Regions from separate parts of the Homo sapiens genome. Here regions 1, 2 and 4 are each linked to region 3. The links are contacts of gene promoters, found by promoter capture Hi-C in human tissues and cell types (Jung and others, 2019). All regions are on one chromosome and are shown on one strand. Each heading gives the region's core, a stretch centred on a gene start or on the middle of the fragment in contact. The rest is flanking DNA. Distances are from core to core; before and after follow the strand shown. Region 1 overlaps RAB11FIP1 (RAB11 family interacting protein 1). Region 2 holds the start of ADRB3 (adrenoceptor beta 3). Region 3 holds the start of ASH2L (ASH2 like, histone lysine methyltransferase complex subunit). Region 4 has its middle 12 kb from the start of RAB11FIP1.

Region 1 (5,843 bases), core at 1,215-3,714, 230 kb after region 3:
TGACCTCTCTTCTTCCTCTTACCATGCTTCGTTCTGAGAGAGAAGAAACAGACAAATCTCAAGAGAAAGAGTTTAATTCAATTCCTCAATTACAAAATCATGGTGGTGGGGATGATGATAGCGGTGGTTAAGATGCCCTCTCTAAGGCTAGGCGTGGTGGCTCACGCCTGTAATCCCAGCACTTTGGGAGGCTGAGGCAGGCAGATTGCTTGAGCCCAGGAGTTTGAGACCAGCCTGGGCAACATGGTGAAACCCTGTCTCTACAAAAAATATAAAAATTAGCCAGATGTGATGACATACTCCTGTAGTCCCAGCTACTCAGGAGGCTAGGCTGGGAGGATTGCTTGAGCTCAGGAAGTAGAGGCTGCAGTAAGCTGTGATCGTGCCACTGCACTCCAGCCTGGGTGACAGAGTGAGACTCTGTCTCAAAAAAAAAAAAATGCCCTCTCTGTTTCTTTTTTTAAAATATTTTTTGTTTGTTTGTTTTAGAGACAGGGTCTTGCTCTATTGCCCACGCTGGAGTGCAGTGGCGCGATCATAGCTTACGGCAGCCTCCAACTCCTGGGCTCAAGGAATCCTCTCACCTTGGCCTTCTGAGGAGCTGGGACTACAGGTGTGCATCATCACACCTGATTAATTAAAAAAAATTTTTTTTTTAGAGATGAGGTCTCACTATGTTGCCCAGGCTGGTCTGAAACTCCTGGCTTCAAGTGATCCTCCTGCCTCAGCCTCTCAAAGGGCTCTTATGACCGGTGTGAACCATTGCCCATGGCTGAGATGCCCTCTCTATTTCTAAGCCCTCTGGTTTCTTTCCTTCTTTCTTCCTTCCTTCCTTCCTTCCTTCCTTCCTTCCTTCCTTCCTTCCTTCCTTTCTTTCTTTTCTTTTCTTTTGAGATGGAGTCTTGCTCTGTCACCCAGGCTGGAGTGCAATGGTGCGATCTTGGCTCTTTGCAACTTCCGCCTCCTGGGTTTAAGCAATTCTCCTTCCTCAGTCTCCCGAATAGCTGGGATTCCAGGTCCGTGCCACCACACCCGGTGAATTTTTGTATTTTTAGTAGAGTTGGGGTTTCACCATGTTGACCAGGCTGGTTTTGAACTCCTGACCTCAAGTGATCCACCTGCCTTGGCCTCCCAAAGTGCTGGGATTATACCCTCTGGTTTCTAAGAATGTATAAATTCCTTTTCCAGAGTTCCTGGCTCTATAAATGATGTCCACTAGTACAAGCTTTTAGAGCTAACAGAATGAGTGTCTTCCAAGTTTTTTTTTTCTTTTTTTTAAGGGTAAAACCATGGAACCTTATGGTAATTCTGATATTTCATTAATTCATCAGGTAGTTATTGAGTTCCTGTGATGTGCTCAACCCTCGTGGGATATAGCCTTATCAGAAGCCAAGGAATCTGCTTCCTTTAGCTCTGAGTTAATTATGTATTTTGAACTTCAATTTCAATGTCTAAATCCCTCCCATTGGCCGGATTCTGCTACTCTACCAAGAGTGCTGCCCTTTTCATTGGTTTAACCCAGAGTTTCTCAACCTCAGCACTGTGGACAGTTTAGACTAGACAGGCCTTTGTCGTGGGGGGCTGTGCTATACGTTGTAAGATGTTCAGTATCATCCTTGTCCTCTACCTGCTGGATACGAATAGCAGCACACCCCCTCCAAGTTGTGGCAACCAGAAATGTATCCAGACGTTGACAGATGCCCCTACACTGCAAACCACCCGTTTAACATCTTATCCCCTTTCTGTTCTTTTTCTTCCCAAAGTCATGTCTCACAAGAGAACAGCGAGTACGGATCTTAAGCAACTGAACCAGGTCAACTTTACCCTTCCCAAGAAGGAAGGACTTTCCTTTCTTGGTGGCCTTCGGTCTAAGAATGATGTCCTTTCCCGCTCTAATGTCTGCATCAATGGGAACCATGTTTACCTGGAGCAGCCAGAAGCCAAGGGTGAGATCAAGGATAGCAGCCCGTCCTCCTCCCCATCCCCCAAGGGCTTCAGAAAGAAGCATTTGTTCTCTTCTACAGAGAACCTGGCGGCTGGGTCTTGGAAGGAGCCTGCTGAAGGAGGTGGGCTGTCTTCTGACAGGCAGCTCTCCGAATCTTCCACCAAGGACTCCTTGAAGTCTATGACCCTGCCGTCCTACCGACCTGCCCCACTGGTCAGTGGGGACCTCAGGGAAAACATGGCCCCCGCAAACTCAGAGGCCACAAAAGAAGCTAAGGAGAGCAAGAAGCCAGAGAGCAGGAGGTCCTCTTTGCTGTCTCTGATGACGGGGAAGAAGGATGTGGCTAAGGGCAGTGAAGGTGAAAACCCTCTCACGGTCCCAGGGAGGGAGAAGGAAGGCATGCTGATGGGGGTTAAGCCGGGGGAGGACGCATCGGGGCCTGCTGAAGACCTTGTGAGAAGATCTGAGAAAGATACTGCAGCTGTTGTCTCCAGACAGGGCAGCTCCCTGAACCTCTTTGAAGATGTGCAGATCACAGAACCAGAAGCTGAGCCAGAGTCCAAGTCTGAACCGAGACCTCCAATTTCCTCTCCGAGGGCTCCCCAGACCAGAGCTGTCAAGCCCCGGTGAGTTTTGGCTCTTCTCGTGCAGGGCATTTCTGCCTTGCCATTGGTGGTTTTCAGGCTTACGTTAGACCAGCTCTTGTGGGTCCCATGATATCATAGTACCCATATATGCCAAAGGTTTGCTGGTCTAAATTATTTTTTTAACCAGTCCCTACTGCCAGCCTGGCCTGCCCTGTATAAATTGCAGTGATGTTTCCCAGCTCAGAGCTACTGCCCAGCAGGCATGGTCTGTCCTTTCAGTCAGCTTATCAGATCTCAGTGGAACGCAGTGGTTTGTAGCAGATTGTGGGTGTTGCAAGTTGGGAATACTGAGTTTGGGTTGTAGTGTATGCAGAACCTGTGTTTTCGAAGTTCTTATCTCACATTTCCCTTTGAGCCAGATGTTATCCTGCCTCCTTGCCTTTTGGCATTGGTTTCTGGTATGAGAGACCCTCGGTCCTCTCTCAAGTGACAGTGACGGTTCTTTGTGTCCACTCTGCCCCTTGTTGTAAGAGCCGGCATAAGCCTTGGGGACTGGCCTTGGGGACTTCTGCTTTTCTGTGTGATCACATTCATACTGACAATATTTCTGCGGTCTGGGGAGTGAGATTTTTTTTTTTAGAGATTCTGCTTACTTTGACATGCACACACACACACACACACATATACACACACATACACACTGTTCCTCTTAAACTTATCTGTGCCTGTTGCTTTGTGTTACATCTTTAACCACTTTAAACCTTTTAGGTGCATTTTGTCCTGTAATAATCAAATGCTCGGGCCTTGTGTTAATCACCACAAGAAACCAGAGGCTATTGCTTTACCGGGATCTTTTCATTTCTATTGCAACAGACTTTTGTGTGACGGATCTGCTTGGTTATAAAAGTGTCTGTTGTGTATGTTAAGTGTTAGTGTTCCTTTTTTTTTTTGAGACAGTCTCCCTCTATCGCCCAGGCTGGAGTGCAGTGGCACGATCTCAACTCACTGCAACCTCCACCTCCCAGGTTCAAGCAGTTCTCCTGCCTCAGCCTCCCGAGTAGCTGGGACTACAGGTGCACACCACCACACCCGGCTAATTTTTGCATTTTTCAGTAGAGATGAGGTTTCACCATGTTGGCTGGGCTGGTCTTGAACTCCTGACTTCAGGTGATCCGCCTGCCTCGGCCTCCCACAGTGCTGGGATTACAGGCGTGAGCCACCGCGCCCGGCTAGCGTTCCTTTTTTAACTTCTTAAGGTACTGCCCCACGTGTAAAGACGTTCTCCCCTGGTGAATGACTTGTTTTTGTGTATTTTCTTTGTCTCTCGTGATGCATCTGCACTGACCTGCAGATTTTATTTTGTCCTTTTTGCAGACTGGAAGTGTCTCCAGAGGCGCAACCCACAGCCAGGCTTCCTTCCCCTACTGACTCCCCTTCCTCTCTTCCTCCTCTTCCTTCTAGCTCTGGCCAGGCATCTGTCCCCTCTGAATTGGGACATGGTGCAGACACACAGTCCTCTGAGAGTCCTTCTGTCTTCTCCTCTCTCTCATCTCCCATAGCAGCTCCCATTTCCACATCCACTCCAATTGAAAGCTGGCCTCTCGTAGACAGGGGCCAGGCCAAGTCTGAAGGACCACCCTTGCTCCCTAAGGCAGAGTTGCAAACTGAGAGTTTAACACCGGTTCCAAATTCTGGTTCTTCTGCCCTGGGATCACTTTTCAAACAGCCATCCTTTCCAGCAAATAAAGGGACAGAAGATTCTCTGATGGGCAGGACCCGTGAGACAGGCACAGAGAAGAACACCAGCAGCCTTGAGTTGGAGGAGTCTCTCCCAGAGCAGCCTGAAACAGGGCGACAAGAGGAAGAACTTCCGAGATTCCCCTGCAAAAAACAAGACTACAGCCCATCATCTGGAGAAGCCCAGGAAGTACCGTTTGCCCTTTCACTCAGCAGTGATGGAGCTGTGAGCCCTGTTGGGGAGCTTGCAGCAGGAGGAGACAGAGACTTGGAGAGTCAGGCTGGGTCTCTTGTGGAGAGCAAAGCCAGGGATGCAGCTGAAGAAGTGGCGCCCCCTCTTCCCATGGGAGCATCAGTCCCTTCCATTGATTCCATGATGCGGAAGCTGGAAGAGATGGGTCTGAACCTCCGCAAGGACCAGAAGAAAACCAAGAAGCGTGTGTCATTTTCTGAGCAGCTCTTCACGGAAGAGGCAGTGGCGGGGGCTGCCTTGCTGGTGGAAGGACACAGCAGTTGTCCCCAGGAGCTGAACCCTGCATGGTCTGTTGCTGGAAACGCGTCTGACGGAGAGCCTCCTGAGTCTCCCCACGCAGAGGACTCAGAAAGGGAATCGGTGACCACACCTGGGCCAGCGACGTGTGGTGCGCCAGCCTCCCCAGCGGATCACCTCCTCCTCCCCTCCCAGGAGGAGAGTTTCTCCGAAGTCCCCATGAGTGAAGCAAGCTCAGCGAAAGACACTCCACTCTTTAGGATGGAGGGAGAGGATGCCCTTGTGACTCAGTATCAGAGCAAAGCCAGTGACCACGAAGGTTTATTGTCTGACCCCTTGAGTGACCTTCAGTTGGTCTCAGATTTTAAATCTCCAATCATGGCCGATCTGAACTTAAGCCTTCCTTCCATTCCTGAAGTCGCATCGGATGATGAAAGAATAGATCAGGTTGAAGATGACGGAGATCAGGTTGAAGATGATGGAGAGACAGCAAAGTCGTCAACTCTGGACATAGGAGCTTTGTCCTTGGGCTTGGTAGTCCCCTGTCCTGAGAGGGGAAAGGGGCCCAGTGGCGAGGCAGATAGGTTGGTACTGGGGGAGGGCCTGTGTGATTTCAGGCTGCAAGCACCCCAGGCATCTGTGACAGCTCCTTCAGAGCAGACCACAGAGTTCGGAATTCACAAACCACATCTTGGCAAGAGCTCAAGCTTGGATAAACAGCTGCCAGGCCCCAGTGGTGGTGAGGAAGAAAAACCGATGGGAAATGGGAGTCCAAGCCCGCCTCCTGGCACATCCCTGGACAATCCTGTACCCAGCCCCTCCCCTTCTGAGATCTTTCCTGTCACACACTCTTTCCCCAGCTCTGCACATTCTGACACTCACCACACCAGCACAGCAGAATCTCAAAAAAAAGCCACAGCAGAGGGCTCCGCTGGTAGAGTTGAAAATTTTGGCAAGAGGAAGCCACTCCTCCAGGCCTGGGTCTCACCCTCGGAGACACATCCAGTCTCAGCTCAGCCAGGCGCTGGAACTGGGTCAGCCAAGCACAGGTGAGAGATGGGGGAGATTGTCTATGTAAATGTGA
Region 2 (5,305 bases), core at 2,629-5,128, 140 kb after region 3:
AGCCTGGGTGACAAAGACTCTGTCTCAAAAAAAAAAAAGAAAGAAAGAAAGAAAAAGAAAATGAGACACTTTTGTATATCTATCTGGAAGGATCACAGATACATAGTCAAATTAAAATAAGCAAGGTGCAGAACAGTGGGTATATATGACTGCTATTTGTATAGAAAAGAAAGGATAAAAGAATATATATATTTGTATTGACTTGTATCTATATAAAATATGAGCCGAGGGATAAACCAGAGACTAATGGTAGTTACCTGCTAGGGAGATGAAAACTGGGATGAAGGCAAGTCTCTATTATATGCATTTGTTATATTTTGATGGTTGAATAATGTGCACGTATAATCTATTCAAAATATTAAGTTATAAAACACAAAATCACAAAAGAGACCCAATAGTCTATAGACTAAGGTGGCAAAAGAGGGAGCCCTTCCCCCTGCCATCTGCTTGGGCGGGGGAAAACCAGACTGAGGAATGAGAGCAGGGATGAGTTGGCAGAGGAGGAAGAAGCCAAGTGTCTCAACATTGATGGATTTGCTCATAAAACCATCCCTAACCGGAGTCAGAAATTTCTCTTCTTACAGTGTCGTTTGGTTATTGGCCTAATCATTCCCCAAACTCAGGCACACTCAGGTGGTTTGAGAAATCCTGTCTTTTTTGAAAATGTTAAACATTTTTACACACTTCTTCCAAATTACAAGGTCACCCCTAAGGCATTGACATCATTGAGGTTGCTTCACTTTCCGGCACCCCTTTCCCTTCCCCCTCCAATGCTGATGTCCTGGAAAAAAATTGCTGAATGGCATGCATTGATTTTGGAGATTACTTTTTGGGAATCTTATGATATCCCTTTGAGATAACTGGCAACAACACTCTGGGGTGCTGCAAAACCCTACTTGGGAGTGACTGCCTTGCTGGTCAACAGGAAGCCACAGCCAAGACTCTGTGCCCAGTGGGGCCTGCACCACTCTGTCATGACTTGAGTGGGGGCAGTAAGAGGTGGAAGGGGCCAGAGGCTGCCTCTTCACTTTCACCCCCATGGATTTCCATGGATCCAAAGGCCTGCTTGGGGTTCTTCATGGGCATAGAAGTCACTTGCTTGGGAGCCCAAGACAAACCCTGCTCATGGGTGAGCAGCTGGGTCCCTGGGAGACGAGGCTGGTTCTTTTTCCTTGGGGATAATTTTAGGTTCTGAATTCCCCTGCAACCTTCCTAACTCCCAGCCCCCAGCTCAGCCTCCCAGAGGGATTGTTCATACCAGTGACTATAAAGTGTTCTCTCGAAATATAGAGCTGTTCAGAGACCTGCCAGGGCATAGCCCTGGAGGCATTTTCCATGATAATTTTTCCCCCTTTGTCCCATTGTTTCAGAGGAGGAAGCATGATAGCTCAAGAATCAGGTCCTGATAGTCCCTGATAAGGTGTCACATCTTCCTGCCTCTCCACTTGAACCCTGGGGCTTTATTTTCCAGCGCCCCCCTCCCCGTACGCAATCTGAGAGGAACTGGTTTAGAGATTGAGAGAGCAGGGGCTGGAAAAAGGAAGCCTTGCAAGTCTTGAGTGAGGGCAGGGAGAAGGGAAGAGGAAGAGGGAAGCCTCTGGTGGAACCGCCTAAGAGACTTCAGAGGCTTTGAAACACCAGGCCTGCCACCACACACGCTCAAAAATGAACGCATGAATTCCTCAACTCAACGCCTTCTAGTTTTTAAAAGTTAATGAATGAAATCCTTAAGGAAGTCCGGACACGGTGACTCACACCTGTAATCCCAGCATTCTGGGAGGCCGAGGCGGGTGGATCATCTGAGGTCAGGAGTTTGAGACCAGCCTGGCCAACATGGTGAAACCCCGTCTCTACTAAAAATACAAAAATTTGCTGGGCTTGGTGGCACATGCTCATCCCAGCTACTTGGGTGGCTGGGAGGCTTGGGAGGCTGAGGCAGAAGAATTGCTTGAACCTGGGAAGTGGAGGTTGCAGTGAGCAGAGATTGTGCCACTGCACTCCAGCCTGGGCAACAAGAGCAAAATTTCATCTCAAAAAACAAATAAACAAACAAAAAACCTAAAGGAAGTGGAGCGAACACTTACCATTGGGGAGATGGCAATGGAAGAGTTGTGTATAGTTTGGGGGGATGGTGGACCTGCCTCATACCCAGTCACCCATTTACCCATTTTTTTTTTTAAAATAGGGTCTTGCTTCTTGCCGTCTTCCAAGCTGGAGTGCAGTAGTAGCATGATCACAGATCACTGTAACCTTGAACTCCTGGGCTCAAGCGATCCTCTCCTCTCAGCCTCTTGATTCATCCTTTCTTTTTTTTTTTTTTTTTTTTTTTTCTGATATGGAGTTTCGCTCTTGTTGCCAAGGCTGGAGTGCCATGGTGTGATCTCGGCTCACTGCAACCTCTGCCTCCCAGGTTCAAGAGATTCTCCTGCCTCAGCCTCTTGAGTAGCTGGGATTACAGGCATGCGCCACCACACCTGGCTAATTTTTTTTTTTTTTTTTTGTATTTTTAGTAGAGACAGGGTTTCTCCTTGTTGTTCAGGCTGGTCTTGAACTCCTGACCTCAGGTGATCTGCCCACCTCGACCTCCCAAAGTGCTGGGATTACAGGCGTGAGCCACCGCGCCCACCTGTTGATTCATCCATTTTTAATATGTCTTTATAGCAGAAAGATTTTAAGAGAAGGGGCTATCTAGAAAATCTCTAGGTGGAAAGGTGCATGGAAGGGGCAGTGCAGAGTGGGGAAGATGGAGAAATTGAAATTCTTCAGCATCCCAGACTACATAGTGCCAAATCCAAATGCAAATCCAGAGCTAGCAATGAAAAAGACTCCTGGCCGGGCGCGATGGCTCACGCCTGTAATCCCAGCACTTTGGGAGGCCGAGGCGGGCGGATCACGAGGTCAGGAGATCGAGACCATCCTGGCCAACATGGTGAAACCCCGTCTCTACTAAAAATATAAAAATTAGTTGGGCATGCTGGCGGGTGCCTGCAGTCCCAGCTACTTGGGAGGCTGAGGCAGGAGAAGCGCTTGAACCCGGGAGGTGGAGATTGCAGTGAGCAGACATCACATCATTGCACTCCAGCCTCCAGCCTGGGTGACAGAGCGAGACGCCGTCTCAAAAAAAAAAAAAAAAAGAAAAGAAAAAGAAAAAGACTCCTGAGCCTCCTAGTGGTTCACGCCTGCAATTCCAACTACTCAGGAGGCTGGGACAGGAGGGTGGCTTGAGCCCGGGAGTTCAAAGCCAGCCTGGGAAAAATAGAGAGAGAGAGAGACTTGAAATATGGTAAATTTCCTCAGTACCTGAAAATATTAAAAAAAACAAAAAGCTAGAAGGAAAGAGAAGGTAACTGAAACAGAAGGGAAAGGGGACAGATCTCACCAAGCTGAGGTCTTGGGAGAGGAGATACTGGCTGAGCCCTATTACTTAATTTAAAATACCTTAGGGGAGGCCACCCAAGTGGATGCGGGGCTCCTGTGAATCCTTTGCTTGACTCCAGCGGGTTACCTTTGCCTCTGATACATAAAGGGTGGGGATGGGAGCGCTCTCCTCTCTCCTTCCCCTGCCTTGCTGTGGGAACTTCTGGGAAAGGAGGTGCAGGGCTCCAGGAAGCCAGTGCCCAGGGAGTGCTATGCTGAGTCCAGGAGCCTGGCCACGGCAGGGGTGGACAGATGGTGGCAGAGGAACCACGGTGTCCCTTCCTCCAGATTTAGCTAAAGGAAACGTGGAGCATCCCATTGGCCATCCTCCCCACTCTCCAATTCGGCTCCAGAGGCCCCTCCAGACTATAGGCAGCTGCCCCTTTAAGCGTCGCTACTCCTCCCCCAAGAGCGGTGGCACCGAGGGAGTTGGGGTGGGGGGAGGCTGAGCGCTCTGGCTGGGACAGCTAGAGAAGATGGCCCAGGCTGGGGAAGTCGCTCTCATGCCTTGCTGTCCCCTCCCCTGAGCCAGGTGATTTGGGAGACCCCCTCCTTCCTTCTTTCCCTACCGCCCCACGCGCGACCCGGGGATGGCTCCGTGGCCTCACGAGAACAGCTCTCTTGCCCCATGGCCGGACCTCCCCACCCTGGCGCCCAATACCGCCAACACCAGTGGGCTGCCAGGGGTTCCGTGGGAGGCGGCCCTAGCCGGGGCCCTGCTGGCGCTGGCGGTGCTGGCCACCGTGGGAGGCAACCTGCTGGTCATCGTGGCCATCGCCTGGACTCCGAGACTCCAGACCATGACCAACGTGTTCGTGACTTCGCTGGCCGCAGCCGACCTGGTGATGGGACTCCTGGTGGTGCCGCCGGCGGCCACCTTGGCGCTGACTGGCCACTGGCCGTTGGGCGCCACTGGCTGCGAGCTGTGGACCTCGGTGGACGTGCTGTGTGTGACCGCCAGCATCGAAACCCTGTGCGCCCTGGCCGTGGACCGCTACCTGGCTGTGACCAACCCGCTGCGTTACGGCGCACTGGTCACCAAGCGCTGCGCCCGGACAGCTGTGGTCCTGGTGTGGGTCGTGTCGGCCGCGGTGTCGTTTGCGCCCATCATGAGCCAGTGGTGGCGCGTAGGGGCCGACGCCGAGGCGCAGCGCTGCCACTCCAACCCGCGCTGCTGTGCCTTCGCCTCCAACATGCCCTACGTGCTGCTGTCCTCCTCCGTCTCCTTCTACCTTCCTCTTCTCGTGATGCTCTTCGTCTACGCGCGGGTTTTCGTGGTGGCTACGCGCCAGCTGCGCTTGCTGCGCGGGGAGCTGGGCCGCTTTCCGCCCGAGGAGTCTCCGCCGGCGCCGTCGCGCTCTCTGGCCCCGGCCCCGGTGGGGACGTGCGCTCCGCCCGAAGGGGTGCCCGCCTGCGGCCGGCGGCCCGCGCGCCTCCTGCCTCTCCGGGAACACCGGGCCCTGTGCACCTTGGGTCTCATCATGGGCACCTTCACTCTCTGCTGGTTGCCCTTCTTTCTGGCCAACGTGCTGCGCGCCCTGGGGGGCCCCTCTCTAGTCCCGGGCCCGGCTTTCCTTGCCCTGAACTGGCTAGGTTATGCCAATTCTGCCTTCAACCCGCTCATCTACTGCCGCAGCCCGGACTTTCGCAGCGCCTTCCGCCGTCTTCTGTGCCGCTGCGGCCGTCGCCTGCCTCCGGAGCCCTGCGCCGCCGCCCGCCCGGCCCTCTTCCCCTCGGGCGTTCCTGCGGCCCGGAGCAGCCCAGCGCAGCCCAGGCTTTGCCAACGGCTCGACGGGTAGGTAACCGGGGCAGAGGGACCGGCGGCTCAGGGTCGGGAAGCATGCGATGTGTCCGTGGGTCAACTTTTTGAGTGTGGAGTTTATTAAGA
Region 3 (5,747 bases), core at 3,160-5,659:
CGTTATACTGGACAATTCAGCATCTAGAAGGTTCTCACTGGTATCTCGTTAAGTTTATTTTTTGAGTACCTAAAAAGAATATGCCAGGCTAGCTGTAGAAGAGGACAAAGTAGTCTAAGGTGTATCTCTATGGTGTCAATAATGTGGTTGGAAAGGGCAGGCAGAATGTAAGAAAAAATGAATTAAAAATGTAAATAACTAGGCCAGGCACAGTGGCTCAGACCTCTAATTCCAGAACTTTGAGAGGCCAAGGCGCATGGATCACCTGACATCAAGAGAAGACTTGCCTATTTGAAGGCAAGAGAGGAAGAGGCCAGGAGGGGAAAGACAATATGGCAGAGACGGATGCAACAGAGGAACCAACGCATTTGAGAAGAGAAACATGGTAGTGATTGCACAAGATGACAGGAAAAGCACAGGAGTTTAGTCTTGCAAAGGGCAAAGTAACAGAAGGACAGAAGACCTTTAGTATAAATGGCTTAAGCTAGAAGAGAAGAAATCAGAACAAAGGTTTATCTTGGACTCTGAAACTAGCTTAGGATATCCTCAGAGAAGACTGCATTTACCAACTATTGCTACCCTCATGGAATTACGAAACATTCTTACAAATGTTACAGCTGAGTTTCCTTACCTTCACTTCTCTGTAGAACCTCTTCTGTTTAACAGACTATTGTGATAAGCTTATTTACAAAGACAAAACCTCATACTAAAGATAGGTAGGTAAATAGTTATTTTAATTTAAATACAAACAGGTGTAAAAAGCAGCCTTTTTTATACCCTGCTAGCTCACATTCTCTATCTCAGTTGTAAAAGATAATCCATCCCACCTAACTGGGCTTTATTTTTCTTTTCTTTTTTGAGACAGGGTATCACTCTGTTACCCAGGCTGGAGTGCAGTAGCAATCATGGCTCACTGCAGCCTCAACCTGCAGGGCTTAAGCAATCCTCCCACCTAAAGCTCCTGAGTAGCTGGTACTACAGATGTGAACCACCACGCCCAGCTAATTTTTTTCTATTTCTCGTAGAGACAGGGTCTCACTATGTTGCCTAGGCTAGTCTCGAAGTCCTGGGCTCACGTCATTCTCCTGTCTCGGCCTCCTAAAGTGCTGGGATTACAGGTGTGAGCCACCATGCCTGGCCTTTTTTTTTGAGACGGAGTCTCACTGTCGCCCAGGCTGGGGTGCAACCTCTGCTTCCCGGGTTCAAGTGATTTTCCTGCCTCCCGAGTAGCTGGGACTACAGGCACGCACCACTGTGCCCAACTAATTTTTGTATTTTTTTTTCTGGTGACGGGGTTTCACCATGTTGGTCAGGCTGGTTTTGAACTCCTGACCTCGTGATCAGCCTGCCTTGGCCTCCCAAAGTGCTGGGATTACAGGCGTGAGTCACTGCGCCTGGCCCCCCACCTTTTTTTTTTTTTAACTTGATACCACTGATAGGATCTAACTGGACTTTAGATATAACTTTTGAAATTCAGTTACAAACTGTTGTCTCCAAAGCTACCAAAACTTTGAACTGTGATTTGATTCTTCCTTGAATTCCTCCCAGTTATCTCTCTAGTAAACTTCCTTTCCTAAACTGTCTATCCAAACAAATTTTTCTGGCAAAAGTGGCCCTATCTTAGGCCTCTCTAAGAGACCAGGCTTGCTTAGCTAGTGTGTTTTCCCAGCAGATGTTGCTACCAAGATCAATTATTTCTTCCTGATCCTTCAGTATTTTTCTTTCTTTTTAAAAACACTCTTTCCTAAATCACAAGTCACATGTTAATTAAGACATCAGCATTTCTAAAACCCACTTTAACCTTTTAACTAGAAAGTATACAACAGATTATAAAGGAAAGCTGGGTGTGGTGGCTCATGCCAGTAATCCCAACACTTTGGAAGGGTGAGGCAGGAGGATCCCTTGAGCTCAGAAGTTCGAGGCTGCAGAAAGCTGTGATCCTGCCATTGCACTCCAGCCTGGGCAGCAGAGCGAGACCCAGTCGCAAGAAAAAAACAAGAAAACATATATATATGTATATATATATACATATACACACACACACACACACACACACACACACACACACATATATGTATTTCTTCACAATCTCACCCAAGGTGGATTAATTTCACGATAATGCAGCCTTATGTTTAGATAGTCTTTTATAAATGTATTAGCATAATACAAACCATAAAGAACATTACAGAGAGCGAGCAGTACAATTATTCCAACAGACAGTCAGTATAAGGAAAAAAGTCTTTCATTCTCAATCACAATATGATTTTAATTCACTAGAAGAGGTACATGATTGGAAATAGGTTTGCTGAGGAGAGTAGACAATATACCTAAAGGAGTGAGTCAGCAGCAATGAGAAAGGAAAAAAAGGATGGTTCAGGCATAAAGAGCATGGGTCATCTCAAATTTTGGACAACAGGCTTTATCCACATATATCCTTTCTGAAAAATCCAAAACACCAACACAAGGTTTATATTGTTCTAAATTTGTTTATATAACACTTTGTAATTGCATTTTTTTTTGTCTCCAAACCAGGTTGTCAACTCAAAAGGAGGGGCAATACCCACCATTGTATCTACCAGAGCTGTGCCCTCAGTAAGCAGATAACATGCTAAGGGAATTAAAACAACTCCTGATTCAACATCCTACTTGCTGAATAGGGGTTAGGAGACATAGGAAATACTTTGCATTTATTTTGCCCACAAAGTAACTGTTGAGCATGTTCAGATTTATTTTACCGAGCAATTCTCACAAAAACTATGAAAAGTACTCACGAGGTATCTATGCCAAATGTGTCAGCCGTGAACCATTTTGTACAAATCCCACATTGCAGCTCTACCTCACCCAACTGTCGGCCATTCTCTTCATCCACGGAGCCCGCCTGAGTATCCATCACCTCTGATGTATCCCCAGCACCTTCCTGTGTCAGAGCAGTTCGAGACTCAAATCAGTTGACTTGAATGTATTTTACTTTATTTTATTTTTTTAAGAGACGGGGGTCTCCCTATGTTGCCCAGGCTGGTCTCAAGTGATCCTGAGGTCTCAGCCTCCCAAAGTGCTGGGATTACAGGCATGAGCCACCGTGCCTGGCCTGAATGTATTTTTGATTCGCTTAAAAATGTAAAAACAAGGCCGGGCGCGGTGGCTCACGCCTGTAATCCCAACACTCTGGGAGGCTGAGGCGGGAGAATCAACTGAGGTTAGGAGTTCGAGACCAGCCTGGCCAACATGGTGAAACCCCGTCTCTACTAAAAAGACAAAAAAAAGAAGCCAGGTGTGTTGGCAGATGCCTGTAATCCCAGATACTCGGGAGGCTGAGGCAGGAGAATCGCTGGAACCCGGGGGGAGGAGGTTGCAGTGAGCCGAGATCGCGCCACTGCATTCCAGCCTGGGCGACAGAGCAAGGCTCCGTCGCAACAAAAAAAAAAAAAAAAGAAGAAGAAGAAATAACTAAAACAAACCCTATTTTGTCTTGCAAACAACTAAAAATACTTACTAGTGTATCTTTTCCATTAGATGATTCTGTCTCCAAGCCACCGCTTACATCGACCAAGTTTGCCTCCCTATAAGATAATGAAAGCGCTCAAGTAAGAATTCTCAAGACAAACCTCAAAATGCCTATTCCCAAAAATGATGATCAAATTACAGCCGAACTTCATACTCCTGCAGCTTTTTCAGCTAAGCCTGATCTCAGACTGGATGCCCAAGGTACTGTCAGGATACTGAGAAGGTGGACATGTCAGACAGTCGCGGACCCACGGAGCACAGGGAAGCCTAACCGGCCTTTACAGTCAAATCTACCTGGGTTAGAGTTGGTCCTGGGAGAGGTTCAAAGAGAGGCAGCTCTCCCACCCTGTTTTCAGAGTGACCGTTACTTCTTCCAGTCTGGCACTGCAAAGTGGTTTCTTTTCTGGAATATGTGAAGGCCTCCCGTTAAAGTGTGAGCTACCAGCTTCCTGCCAGGGTGCAAGGATCAGAGATAACGACAGGAGCCTCAGCTCCCACCGCCCGTGAAAGGTGCGGAAGGGGCGTTATCCGAGATATGCTTGAGAGGGGACGGGCCAAGCGGCGCAGAGGCAGGGCGAGCCATTGGCGGCGGGGCCTGGGTTCGCAGGGGGCGGGCGGCAGGGCTCCAGGAGCCGCGGGATTCGCGAGGGGCGGGCCTCCCTCCCGCGTCTTCCTCGGGCGGCAGGACCTCTTACCCGCCTTCAGCCTCCCCGGAACTGGGCTCAACTGTCGGAGCAGCAGAGATCCCCTCTCCAGGAGGAGCGGCTGCTCCCGCTGCCACCGGCTTCATCTCCCCCTCTTCTGCCCCTGTTGCATTTGCGACCGCTCCTGGGCCAGGCCCGGCACCCGCTTCCTGGCCAGGTCCTGCTCCTGCCGCCGCCATCACGGCCACCCCTGGACTTCTCGCGAGAATACTCTCTTCTCTCGCGCGCGTTGCTGTGTGACGCTGTAGTCTTCAAACAGAAAAAGCCCGCGGTGCGTCCACCGCCTGCCTGAGGAAGCATAATTCCACGACCGCTTTAAGGCCAGGCGCGCGGGCAGAGGTGGGCCGGCCTCCCGCGCCGGCGGTGGCCGCGGGCCTGGCAGGCTGAAGGTGGAGGAAGCTAGATGGTTAGTGCGGCTCTCTGGAGGACTTCCTTTCGAGTCAGGGACTGACGCGGCGTATTTTCGTGGCTACGACTGGATATTCTGCGCAGAAGAGGGTCCTTGAGAGCGCTGGCCGTGCCGTGCCGCCAAACACTCCTCACCACCGAATGTGGGAAACGTCTTCCTTGGAGTCTAGCACTCCCTGCCCGCCCCGGATGGAATTTGGTTTTCTGCGCAGGGTCGCCCCTTGGAGCCCGTTTCCAAATGATTTTAAGAGGGAAGGGAATCTAGGGAGGCCGATTCCAGGGGCGAGGGTGGAAAACCCAGGCCGGGCAGCCGAGGAGCGGCGTGGGCACTAGAAGCGGCTCGCCGCTTCCTACTGTGAGAGGCGGAAAGCGAAGCCCCGGGGTGTGCCGGGGCACTCGGAATGTAGACAAGTTTGGTGCCCAGCGAAAGGAAGAGGTGTGGACTGAAAGTACGAACTTGGGAAGTCATCAACAGTAGCTGGTGGCTGGCATCAGTGGAGTGAGTTGAGTCTTTCAGAGCCATGGTCTCCAAACTCGAGAATGCAAACCTCTGAGAGTGTTGCGGCCAGGAACGTTTTCAGGACACCAGTGTTTATCCTATATCCTAAAATGTTGCCTAACGATAATACACTCTTCTCCCGCTTTACACAAGAACGGCGCACCCCTCGCCAATCCTCAGTCTAATCTTACTGTGATGTGTCCACCGATAGTGTAGGAATCTCTGGGCCACTGGACGCCATGGGAAATACGTAGATATTGATTTCCCAATTGGTTCTCAATTATTGGTTTTCAACAAAATTGAAGAAAGACCTAACTGAGTTGCCAGGTTACATTTTTAAAATTGATGATAAATACTTAAATCAGGGGTTGGTACTCCAAAGAGAAGCAGGATGCTTGATCTAAGTATCTCCTCCCAAATACGTAGTATTGTAGCAGTTTTAACATATGGTCGCAGAATTTTGTGTTTTCTTGTTGTTGTTTGTTTGAGACAGAGTCTCGCTCTGTCGCCCAGGCTGGAGCGCAGTGGCCCGATCACGGCTCACTGCAACCTCCACCCCAGGTTCAAGCGATTCTCCTACCTCAGCCTCCCGAGTAGCTGAGATTACAGGTATCTGTCACCACGCCCGGCTA
Region 4 (5,371 bases), core at 941-3,440, 190 kb after region 3:
AAGAAATGCAGAGGTCTAAGAATAGCTGGTAAATCTTGACAGAGGAAGTACAAAGCTGAAGACTTTACACTACTAGATATTAAGATGTGTCATGAAACTGTGGTAATTAAGACAGTATGGTATTGGTTCAGTAATAATGAAATAGACCAGGGAACAGAATAGAGTTCAGAAACATGATATTGACGGGCCCATAGGGGAAAGCTGGGTCATTCAATAAATGGCACTGGGTCTATGGGATATTGTAGGAGCTGAGGAAAAACTTTCCCTCTACCCGCTGAAAAACCAACTCACAAAAGGCAGATTAGGAAGAGAAATGGCCCACAAATGTTTTTAACGTGAACAGGAATCTTATCAAAATATAAGATCTCAAAGAAAAATGTCATTGATGCTTTTATACTATCTTGAAGTTACAGAAAGAATAGGGGCTTGGATTCATGGCAAAATAGTTTATGGGAGGGAGAGAAGAGAGGACTGGCTAGCAAAGGTGTCTTGTTATATGGAGGGGATCTCACAGGTTGGAGCCTTCAGAGAGAATAGGTGGTAAATGTTTCTTTCAGACCTTTAATGGTGTCAGACTCTCAGTTCATCTTTCCTGGATCCAGGCAAGGGAGGATCTCAGAGAAAGCCTGGCTGCATCACGCAGATTCTCAACAGATGCAAATCTCCCCGACAAAAGACAGCTTGGGGTTGGGCGCGGTGGCTCATCCCTGTAATCCCAGTACTTTGGGAGGTCTAGGCAGGCAGATCACTTGAGGTTAAGAGTTCGAGACCAAGGCCGGGCGCGGTGGCTCACGCCTGTAATCCCAGCACTTTGGGAGGCTGAGGCAGGCAGATCACCTGAGGTCGGGAGTTCGAGACCAGCCTGACCAACATGGAGAAACTCTGTCTCTACTAAAAATACAAAATTAGCTGGGTGTGGTAGCACATGCCTGTAATCCCAGCTACTCGGGAGGCTGAGGCAGGAAAATTGCTTGAAAACCCAGGAGGTGGAGGTTGCGGTGAACCGAGATTGCGCCATTGCACTCCAGCCTAGGCAACAAGAGTGAAACTGTCTCAAAAAAAAAAAAAAAAAAAGAGTTCAAGACCAACCTGACCAACATGGTGAAACTTCATCTCTACTAAAAATACAAAAATTAGCCAGGTGTGGCGGAGGGCACCATAATCTCAGCCAGTCAGGATGCTGAGGCAGGGAGAATTGCTTGAATCTAGGAGGGGGAGGTTGCAGTGAGCCTAGATGGTGTCCCTGCACTCCAGCCCGGGCAACAGAGTGAAATTCCATCTCAAAAAAAAAAAGAAAAAGACAGCTTGGTAGGACTCCTTCTGTCCACAGGTCCTCTGAACAACCATCTCAAAATATGTCAGACTAGGCCGGATGTGGTAGCTCATGCTTGTAACTCCAATATTTTGGGAGGCTGAGGTGGGAAGATTGCTGGAGCCCATAGTGAGCTGTGATCGCATCTCTGCCCTCCAGCCTGGGGGACAGAGAGAGATGCTGTCTCAGAAAAAATTTAAGGCGGGCCCGGTGGCTTATGCCTGTAATCCCAACAGTTGGGGAGACCAAGGCAGGTGGATCACTTGAGGCCAGGAGTTCGAGACTAGCCTGGCCACCATGGTGACACTCTGTCTCTACTAAAAATACAAAAATTAGGCCTGGCGCAGTGGCTCATGCCTGTAATCCCAGCACTTTGGGTGGCCGAGATTGGCGGATCACCTGAGGTCAGGTATTCAAGACCAGCCTGGCCAATATGGTGAAACCCCATCTCTACTAAAAATACAAAAATTAGCCAGGTGTGGTGGCTCATGCCTGTAATCCCAGCTACTTGGGAGGCTGAGGCAGGAGAATCGCTTGAACCCAGGAGGCGGAGGTTGCAGTGAGCCAAGATTGTGCCACTGCACTCCAGCATGGGCAACGACAAAAAAAGCGAGACTCCATCTCAAAAAAAAAAAAAAATGATAATGATAATTAGCCAGGTGTGGTGGTGCACGCCTGTACTCCCAACTACTCAGGAGGTTGAGGCGGGAGAATCACTTGAACCTGGGAGGCGGAGGTTGCAGTGAGTGATGGTGCCACTACACTCCAGCCTGGGTGACAGAGTGAAACCCTGTCTCAAAAAATTTTTTTTAAATGTCAAAGTATATTTCGGAGTGAAATCTTTTGGGTTCCTTCAGTATTCATATGGGGAAAAATGAATCTTGATCCCAACAGATACTATATGGTAGGGAAAATTTTGTGCTTCAGTGGAAAATTGCATTATCTATAGTACATTCTCTGGATTATCTGATTTTGATTCTATGATAGCTATTTTACAGCTCTGTGTCTGGTAGACAATTGAAAGCAATGCAAAATTCATAAAAGCAAATTGTCTAGTGGAGGGACACTCCCTGCCCCCTCCTCCAGAAAAACAAGCTTTGCCTCCATTTGCATATTCATTTCAATATTTCTGGTCTCTAAATGCGTCTATTCTTTGGATTCACCTTTGAACTGGTTGTAACACCTTACTAGTTTTTCTTAATAATAAGTGTAATAAAATTTTAACATGTTTATTTTTATGTCTGTATGAAAGTTCATAATTTTATGTTTTTTAAAAAATTAATTTTTGGGTTGGGCGCAGTAGCTCACGCCTGTAATCCCAGCACTTTGGGAAGCCGAGGGGGGTGGATCACCTGAGGTCAGGAGTTCGAGACCAGCCTGGCCAACATGGCGAAACCCCATCTCTACTAAAAATACAAAAATTAGCCAGGCGTGGTGGCTCATGCCTGTAATCCCAGCTACTCGGGAGGCTGAGACAGGAGAATTGCTTGAACCCAGGAGGCAGAGGTTGCAGTGAGGCGAGATGGAGCCACTGCACTCTAACCTGGGTGACAGAGCAAGACTCCATCTCAAAAAAAATAAAATTAAATTAACTTTTGGCCAGGCACAGTGGCTCACACTGTAATCCCAGAACTTTGGGAGGCCGAGGCAGGTGGATAACTGGAGCTCAAGAGTTTGAGACTAACCTGGGCAATGTGGAGAAACCCTACACCTACAAAAACTACAAAAATTAGCCAAGCATTGTGGCTCATGCCTATAGTCCCAGCTACTAACACTTGGGAGGCGGAGGTAGGAGGCTCACTTGAGCCTGGGAGGTTGAGGCTGCTGTGAGCCATGATCATGCAGCCTGGGTGACAGAGCAAGACCCTGTCTCAAAAAAATTAACTTTGAATAATACAAAAAATTAGGTGGATTGCTAATATAAAGGTGGAAGGCAAACCAAAATGCTTTTATAAGACAATAAAGGAGAATATATTCATGACTTTGAGACAGCAATGATTTCTTAGAAAGGACTTAAAGCACTAACCATAAAAGAAAAGATTGATCATTTGGGTGTCATTAAAATTAAGACTGCTTTTCATCAAGAAACACCACTAAGAGAGTGAAAAGGCATGCCACAGAGTGGGAGAGGATACTTGCATTACATTATAGACTTGATATCTCTATCTTTGTAATGACATCTACAAATCAATACAAAGACAGAAGAAAAATGGGCCAAAGATATGAGTAGGCCCATCACGAGAAAACCATATCCAAATGGTGAAAAAGCTTAAGAAAAAGCATACAGCCTCATTAGTCACCAGGGAAATAAAAATTAAAACTATTGCACAGCCGCCAGAAGGGTGAAATGCAAAAGACAATACTAAATGTCTTCATCTGCTTGTGTTACTATAAGGAATACCCAAGGCTGGGTAATTTATAAAGAAAAGAGGTTCATTTGGCTGCTGGTTCTTCTGGCCATACAAGAAGCATGGCACCAACATCTACTTCTGATGGGGGCCTCAACCTGCTTCCACTCATGGCAGAAGGCAAACGGAAGCCTGCGTGTGCAGAGACCATAGGGTGAGAGAGAAAGCAAGAGAGAGAGGGGAGGTAGCAGTCTGTTTTTTTTAATAACCAGCCCAGGCTGGACGCGGTGGCTCATGCCTGTAATCCCAGCACTCTGGGAGGCGGAGGCGGGTGGGTCACTTGAGGCCAGCAGCTCAAGACCAGCCTGGCCAACATGGCGAAACCCCGTCTCTACTAAAAATACAAAAATTAGCTGTGCATGGTGGCAGGAGCCTGTAATCCCAGCTACTTGGGAGGCTGAGGCAGGAGAATTGCTTGAACCTGGGAGGCGGAGGTTGCAGTGAGCCGAGATGGTGCCACTGCACTCCAGCCTGGGTGACAGAGCAAGACTCCGTCTCGAAGAAAAACAAACAAACAACAAACGAAACGAAAAAAAACGCAATCAGCCCTCACAGGAACTTACAGAACGAGAACTTACTCACTACTTCCAAGACTGCACCAAGCTGTCATGAAGTCTTGAGGGATCCGCCCCCATGACCCAAACACCTCCTATTAGGTCCCACCTCTGACACTGGGGATCACATTTCAACATGAGGTTTGGAGGGGTCAAATATTCAAACCATAGCACTGAGGCTGACAACCATGTGGAGAAACTGGATCTCAAACATTGGTGGGAGTATAAATTGCTATAACCTCTTTAGAAAATTGTTTAGCAATATCTCTTAGTGCTGAACATACACCCACCCTGTGATCCAGCAATTCCATTCTTGGGTGTGGGTGCACACTTATGTCTATGCACTGAAAGACAGAGGAGAATTTAGAGCGATTTCATTCCCCATACCCCTGTATTCGCTTCCTGTGGCTGCTGTCACAAATTACCACTAACTTGGTGGCTTAAGACAACAGATGGCCGGGCGCAGTGGCTCACACCTGTAATCCCAGGACTTTGGGAGGCCAAGGCAGGAAGATCACCTGAAGTCAGGAGTTCAAGACCAACCTGGCCAACATGGTGAAACCCCTGTCTCTACTAAAAATACAAAAATCAGCTAGGCATGGTGGCGGGCACCTGTAATCCCACCTACTTGGGAGGCTGAGGCAGGAGAATTGCTTGAACCTGGGAGACGGAGATTGTAGTGAGCTGAGATTGTGCCATTGCACTGCAGCCTGGGTGACAAAGAGAGACTCCATCTGAAAAAAAAAAAAAAAAAAAAAGGCAACAGATATTTATTCTCTCACTGTCAGCTCTGGAGGTTGAAAGTCCAGAATGAAGGTGTCAGCAGGGTTGAACTCTGTCCAGAGGCTCTAGGGAGGTGTTGTCACTCGTGTCCTCTGGCTTCTGGTGGCCTTGGGCATTCCTTGGTTTGTGGATGCATCAGTCTCATCTCTGCCTCCTCCTTCTCAGGTCTTTCTCCTCCTGTTTGTGTAGTCTCGCTCTGCCTTGTTCTGTTAGGACACTTGTCACTGGAGTGAGGGTCCTTCTGGATAATCCGAGATGATCGTGTCATATCAAGGGCCTTAATTTAATTACATTGGCGAAGACTCTTGTTTTTA

The links. The method cuts DNA at HindIII sites, captures the fragments that hold promoters and counts their contacts. A contact is called where the count stands out against the background at its distance.
Region 1: a contact is called between a fragment that was not itself captured here and the fragment with the promoter of ASH2L in region 3, in 2 of the 25 tissues and cell types used here (aorta and spleen).
Region 2: a contact is called between the fragment with the promoter of ADRB3 here and the fragment with the promoter of ASH2L in region 3, in 2 of the 25 tissues and cell types used here (adrenal gland and bladder).
Region 4: a fragment that was not itself captured here is called in contact with the fragment with the promoter of ASH2L in region 3 in 2 of the 25 tissues and cell types used here (aorta and liver).

The regions. Positions count from the first base shown.
Region 1 is chr8:37,871,243-37,877,085 of GRCh38, reverse strand. RAB11FIP1 (RAB11 family interacting protein 1) reads left to right here. Exons shown (of 6, transcript NM_001002814.3): 3 at 1,764-2,571; 4 at 3,907-5,808. Among named protein-coding and RNA genes, the nearest start is that of BRF2, 24 kb to the right of the region's middle. The HindIII fragment of the contact is 6,711 bases long and covers 1-5,819 here.
Region 2 is chr8:37,965,172-37,970,476 of GRCh38, reverse strand. It overlaps ADRB3 (adrenoceptor beta 3), which reads left to right and starts at 3,878. Exons shown (of 2, transcript NM_000025.3): 1 at 3,878-5,212. The coding sequence starts at 4,008. RefSeq lists an enhancer at 4,145-4,879. The HindIII fragment of the contact is 25,598 bases long and covers 1-5,305 here.
Region 3 is chr8:38,104,191-38,109,937 of GRCh38, reverse strand. ASH2L (ASH2 like, histone lysine methyltransferase complex subunit) reads right to left here and starts at 4,409. Exons shown (of 16, transcript NM_004674.5): 1 at 4,200-4,409; 2 at 3,494-3,560; 3 at 2,772-2,917. The coding sequence starts at 4,387. RefSeq lists silencers at 4,022-4,221, 4,552-4,641 and an enhancer at 4,312-4,441. The HindIII fragment of the contact is 26,659 bases long and covers 1-5,747 here.
Region 4 is chr8:37,909,091-37,914,461 of GRCh38, reverse strand. No RefSeq gene overlaps it. Among named protein-coding and RNA genes, the nearest start is that of RAB11FIP1, 12 kb to the right of the region's middle. RefSeq lists an enhancer at 3,584-4,083. The HindIII fragment of the contact is 7,181 bases long and covers 1-5,371 here.